Linked DNA regions of Homo sapiens: region 1 is linked to region 2. Evidence: promoter capture Hi-C in human tissues and cell types (Jung and others, 2019). All regions are on one chromosome and are shown on one strand. Each heading gives the region's core, a stretch centred on a gene start or on the middle of the fragment in contact. The rest is flanking DNA. Distances are from core to core; before and after follow the strand shown.

Region 1 (3,038 bases), core at 229-2,728, 110 kb before region 2:
CAGGTGGATCACCTGAGGTCAGAAGTTCCAAGACCAGCCTGGTCAACATAGTGAAACCCCCTATCTACTAAATATACAAAAATTAGCCAGGCGTGGTGACAGGCGCCTGTAATCCCAGCTACTCAGGAGACTGAGGCAGGAGAATCGCTTGAACCTGGGAGGTGGAGGTTGCAGTGAGCCCAGATCACGCCATTGAGCTCCAGCGTGGACACTGGGTGACAAGAGCGAAACTTCATCTTAAAAACAAAACAAAACAAAATAGTAATAGTTCCATAGACTCTCCAGACTCACACCCACTCCAGCAGTGTGTGCAAAAGCACCCGTGTCCCCATCCTCTCACCATACTGTAAATCACCAAACTTTGATCTTTACGCCTGTTGGTAGGTGAAAATAACATCTCAGGATAGAGTTAATTTGCACTTTCCTTATTTTGGATTGGCCATGTTTCATATGAGAATGCGTCCTTTCTACATTATTTAGTAGATAGTTTGTCTTTTTATTAGTGATTTGTAGGCACTCTTTTTTTTTTTTTTTTTTTTTTTTTTTTGAGACAGAGTCTCGCTCTGTCGCCCAGGCTGGAGTGCAGTGGCGCCATCTCTGCTCACTGCAAGCTCCGCCTACGAGGTTCACACCATTCTCCTGCCTCAGCCTCCCGAGTAGCTGGGACCACAGGCGAACCGCCACCACGCCCAGCTGATTCTTTGTATTTTTAGTAGAGACGGGGTTTCACCATGTTAGCCAGGATGGTCTCGATCTCCTGACCTCGTGATCCGCCCGCCTCGGCCTCCCAAAGTGCTGGGATTACAGGCGGGAGCCACCGTGCCCGGCAGCACTCTTTACATATTAGGCAATTTAGGCTTTTGCCTATGATATGAGTTGCACATGTTTCCCTCTAGTTGCTTCTATGTTGGCTCTGCTTATGGTCACTTTGCTGTGTAGGATTTTTTGATCTCTGTATAATTAAATGTGTCAGTTTTAGTTCATGGCTTTTGGGTTTGGGGTCATTCTTAGAAATGCCTTCCCCATTTCCATGCTGAGAGAATTCTTTTGTGGCCTCTCCAGTGCTTTTTTTTTTTTTTTTTTTGAGACAGAGTCTTGCTGTCACCAGGCTGGAGTGCAGTGGTGCAATCTCAGCTCACTGCAACCTCTGCTTCCCGGGTTCAAGCAATTCACCTGCCTCAGCCTCCCAAGTAGCTGGGACTACAGGTGCACGCCACCACACCCGGGCTAACTTTTGTATTTTAGAGATGAGGTTTCACCATGTTGGCCGGGATGGTCTCGCTCTCCTAATCTCGTGATCCGACCGCCTCGGCCTCCCAAAGTGCTGGGATTCCAGGCATGAGCCACCGTGCCCGGCCTCCAGAGCTTTTCTTCTGGCTTCTCCTTGACTGCTTGCTTGTTTCCATGGTTGAAGCTTTGATCCAGCTGGAGCATGTTATTATGTAACATGGTGGGATGGAGCTGATGTAATTTTTTTTTTAGATCTTGGCTCAGCTTTCTTCTCAGCCCCACCTGTCGAGAGCACCTGTCTTTTGCTTACAGCTGTGAAATCCCACCTTTCTCACAAAGTACATTCCTGTATGGATTTGGACCCCTTCCTGGCTGCTGTTCCTTCGTCCCTTGTCTGTGCATGTACCCAGCTCCTGACCTAAGCCTGGCAGCCAGTCGCCCAAAACGCCCGAGGCCCGCTTTTGGAGCTGACACGCTTCCCTTGGCTGGTGTGCTGTCCCGGGCGCTCTGATCCCAAGGAAGCTGTTGTCTTGGGGACATGCCCATCTGGCAGCTCTGCCTCTCTGCATCCACGTGCTCTGTCCCGCTCCCCACATCATCTCAGCAACTAAACCGGCAGACTGGGCCGGGTCCCAATTTTCAGTTGGCATGAGCCCCGGCTCAGTGTGTAGGTCATTGGTCCGTGTGACGCAGGGGGCTGCTGAGGGACCCTGCTGTGCAGTTGAGGGTGGGGGGTGGTGGGTGGAGCTCTGGGCTGCCTGGGCAGGTGGCCCGAATCCTGACACATGGCCCTGGGCTGCCCTTCTGTTCACCCGCCCTCGTCTGGGCAGCCCAGGGAGGTGCGGGTGGCAGCCCTGCTTCCCAGGCCATGGGTGGCTCTCTGGGTGTGGCCGTGTGTGATGGCTGTGCCGAGCGTGGATTTGTGCCCCAATCTTTTCCAGGTCTTAGGGTACGTACTGTTCTCAGCCTCTCCATGCTGGGACGCTGTTCGCAGTCAGCAGGGCTGGTTCTGGGAAACCCCCAGAGTTCCAGCTATGACTTCTCCCCTCCCCCGGTAACATAGGTGGATAGGTGGGACCTCGGGGAGGGGCAGGGGCTGGGGGTATCCGTCTTCCAGCTATTGAGTTTCAGACATTGAGGGTTGCAGACTCATTTGTGTCCTCTCTGCCACCTGCCATCCCTGTGACCCTGGACGATGGGCCTCTCGGTCTCTTTGTAAACATGAGGCCCGGGAGTGGTTCCAGAACGTCCATCATGGGGCTGCGAGAGCAGGAGGGATGGGGCGTCCATGGTGGCGGGAGGTTCTGTAAGTGGCGGTGGCCTTGATGGATCTCAGCACTGAGGTCGAGTTCTAAAGCCAGAGTGTGAGGCACAGTTCTGTCGCGTCACACTGGCTTCCAAGTCCCATGGATCTAGCCTTGAGAAGGCGGAAGGGGAGACTTGAGTTCTGCTGGGTCTTGGCTGCGTCGCCTCTGCCCTGGGGCGTGGGCAGGGCTGCGGTCTTGGAGGGTCTCTCTTTTCCTTTCTGTGATGAGCGCACAGCTGGGGCCGCTCCAAGCCGCTGTTCTGCCTTCCTTTTCCTGCCCCTGTTACCTGGGCAGCGGAGGGCCGTGCGGCCCGGGCTCTCAGTGAGTGGCTTTCCCTGCTTCCCTCCTCCCAGCACTTCTCCACCGACCCAGTGGCCGCCTCCATCATGAAGATCTACACGTTCAACAAAGACCAGGACCGGGTGAAGCTGGGTGTGGACACCATTGCCAAGTGAGCGTGTGGCCCCTTTGCCCTGCCTGGCCCCTCCAGCTCATCCCAGC
Region 2 (3,090 bases), core at 232-2,731:
AATCCCAGCACTTTGGGAGGTCGAGGCAGGTGGATCACAAGGTCAGGAGATTAAGACCATCCTGGCTAACACAGTGAAACTCCATCTCTACTAAAATAAAAATACAAACAAATTAGCTGGGCATGGTGGCACGTGCCTATAATCCCAGCTACTCGGGAGGCTGAGGCAGGAGAATTGCTTGAACCTGGGAGGCAGAGGTTGCAGTAAGCCGAGATCGCTCCACTGCACTCCAGCCTGGGTGACAGAGTAAGACTCTGTCTCAAAAAAAAAAAAAAAAAAAGACCAGCCTGGGCAACATAGCAAGAACCTGTCTCTAGTAAGTGTAAAAATTAGCTGGGCGTGGTGGCAGGCACCTGTAATCCCAGCTACTTGGGAGGCTGAGCCAGGCGAATGGCATGAACCTGGGAGGCGGAGCTTGCAGTGAGCCGAGATCACGCCACTGCACTCCAGCCTGGGCTACAGAGCGAGAGTCTGTCTCAAAAAAAAGAAAAAAAAAAATTAGCCAGGTGTGGTGGCATGCAACTGTAGTACCACCTACTCTGGAGGCTGAGGCTGGAGGATCACTTGAGCCTGTAAGGTCGAGGCTACAGTGAGTCATGATCGCCCCACTGTACTCCAGCCTAGGCAACATAGTGAGAACTCATCCTTAAAAAAGGAAAATAAATTAGCTGGGTGTGGTGGTGCCCACCTATAGTCCCAGCTCTTCGGGTGGCTGAGGCAGGAGGACCGCTTGAGATTGGGAGGTCAGGGCTGCAGTGAACTATGATCGTGCCACTGCACTCCAGCATCGACAACAGAATGAGACACCGTCTAAAAAAGAAAAATTGCAGATGAAATTAAAGTTGCTAGTCAGCTGACTTTAAAATAGGGAGAGTAGCGTGGATTATCCAGGTGGGCCCAATGTAATCATTAGGGTCCATCAAAGTAAGAGAAAGGGCCAGGTGTGGTGGCTCATGCCTGTAATCTCAGCACTTTGGGAGGCTGAGGCGGGCAGAAAACTTGGGGTCAGGAGTTCGAGACCAGCCTGGGCCAACATGGGGAAACCTCGTCTCTACTACAAATACAAAAATTAGCCAGGCGTGGTGGCGGTCACCTGCAATCCACGCTAGTCAGGAGACTGAGCTTGGACTCAGTCTCTGAACCCGGGAGGCAGCGCAGTCTCTTGAACCCGGGAGGCAGAGGTCGCAGTGAGCCAAGATCATACCACTTTACTCCAGCCTGGGCAACAGAGTGAAACTCTGTCTCAAAATAGGAAAAATAGATAAATAAATAAATAAAGAGACAGACCATGTCTCTGTCTTTGCAGATATAGCGAAGATTATTCTCCCATTCAAGTAGACTTATACATTCTCTCTGTTCTCAGTTCCACACCGGAGAGGCGGGGATTTCCCTAGGATCACTGGACCTGCTGGGATCAGCCTCTGCCCAGCCCTGGCAGGGGAGGGAGTTGACGGGCTGACACAGGAAACTCCCCTGAAACCTGTTTCTCAGCTTCCCGGCCCAGCTGGGGCACCCACTGGAAGGAGAGGCCAGGCGGAAGACCCTGGCTCCGTCATGGCCTCTGCCCTGAGGCCACCCCGTGTCCCCAAGCCTAAGGGTGTCCTGCCTTCACACTACTATGAGAGCTTTCTAGAGAAGAAGGGGCCCTGTGACCGGGTAAGGTGGGGAGGCGGGGGCTGGCCCTGCTGGGCCACCGTGGGGAGCTGCGGCACCTCTCTGAGTCCCTGTCTCCCCACTCGCCAAGGGGGGGCGGGGTGGGTGCTGGATGGGGCAGGACACGTGCTGGGGGACTGGGGTGGGTTCTGGCCATCTGCCTCTCTGTGCGTCTATCTCTGTCTCCGTGTGTCTTTGAATTTGGTTTCTTTTTCTCTTTCTCTCTCCCTGGCCCCGTCTGTCTCTCCCGATGTCTGTCTCAGTCTCCCTCTCTCTTTGTCTCAATCTTTGCTTTTGTCTCTCGTTCACTCTCTTGAATACAAACAAGATCAGGGACTTCCTCCAGGAAATGGGGAGTCCTCTGACTCCCGAGCTTCCTCCCGCTCCCAGCCCAGGAAAAACTCCGTGAACCTCAGCTGCTGGGGCGAAGGCCAGGACAGGTGACATGTGAGGACAGTAAGAGCTAGCGGGGGCCACATTCCACAGGACAGATAGTTGCCATGGACAGTGCGTGCATGTGTGTGTGTGTGTGTGCTTATGTCTCCCTCAGAATAAAGTCCCAGCCCCTCCGTTCCCCGTGAGGCCCTATCTCTCCTTCCCAATGCCGCATATTCATTTTCTTTCTTTCTTTTTGTTAGAGACAGAGTTGCTCTGTCACCCAGGCTAGAGTGCAGGGGCACGATCATGGCTCACTGTAGCCTCAAACTCCTGGGCTCAAGTGAACCTCCCGCCCCAGCCTCCTGAGTAGCTGGGACCACAGGCATGCACTGCCTCTTCTGGCTTTTATTTTATTTATTTATTTTTGAGACTGAGTCTCACTCTGTCACCCAGGCTGCAGTGCAGTGGCACCATCTCGGCTCACTGCAACCTCCACCTCCCAGGTTCAAACGATTAAGCGATTCTCGTGCCTCAGCCTCCCGAGTAGCTGGGATTACAGGTACGCACCACCACACCTAATTTTTGTATTTTTAGTAAAGACAGTGTTTCATTTTGTTGGCCCGGCTGGTCTTGAACTCTTGACCTCAGGTGATCCACCTGTCTCGGCCTCTCTAAATGCTGGGATTACAGGCATGAGCCACCGCACCCAGCCTTTTTTTTTTTTTTTTGAAGATGGGGTCTTGCTGGCCAGGCGCAGTGGGTCACACCTGTAATCCCAGCACTTAGGGAGGCTGAGGCAGGTGGATCACCTGAAGTCAGGAGTTTGAGACCAGCCTGGCCAATATGGTGAAACCCCGTCTCTACTAAAAATACAAAGATTAGCCGGGCGTGGTGGTGCGTGCCTGTGATCCCAGCTACTCTGGAGGCTGAGGCAGGAGAATCACTTGAACCTGGGAGGCAGAGGTTGCAGTGAGCCAAGATCGTGCCACTGCACTCCAGCCTGGGCAACAGAGCAAGACTCCGTCTCAAAAAAAAAAAAAAGATGGGGTCTTGCTATGT

The links. The method cuts DNA at HindIII sites, captures the fragments that hold promoters and counts their contacts. A contact is called where the count stands out against the background at its distance.
Region 1: a fragment that was not itself captured here is called in contact with the fragment with the promoter of STAP2 in region 2 in 2 of the 25 tissues and cell types used here (dorsolateral prefrontal cortex and lymphoblastoid cells).

What each region holds. Positions count from the first base shown.
Region 1 is chr19:4,448,268-4,451,305 of GRCh38, reverse strand. It overlaps UBXN6 (UBX domain protein 6), which reads left to right. Exons shown (of 11, transcript NM_025241.3): 5 at 2,891-2,988. It also overlaps a transcript of CHAF1A not described here. Among named protein-coding and RNA genes, the nearest start is that of MIR4746, 3.8 kb to the right of the region's middle. The HindIII fragment of the contact is 5,827 bases long and covers 1-3,038 here.
Region 2 is chr19:4,337,218-4,340,307 of GRCh38, reverse strand. It overlaps STAP2 (signal transducing adaptor family member 2), which reads left to right and starts at 1,481. Exons shown (of 13, transcript NM_001013841.2): 1 at 1,481-1,656. The coding sequence starts at 1,555. The HindIII fragment of the contact is 19,957 bases long and covers 1-3,090 here.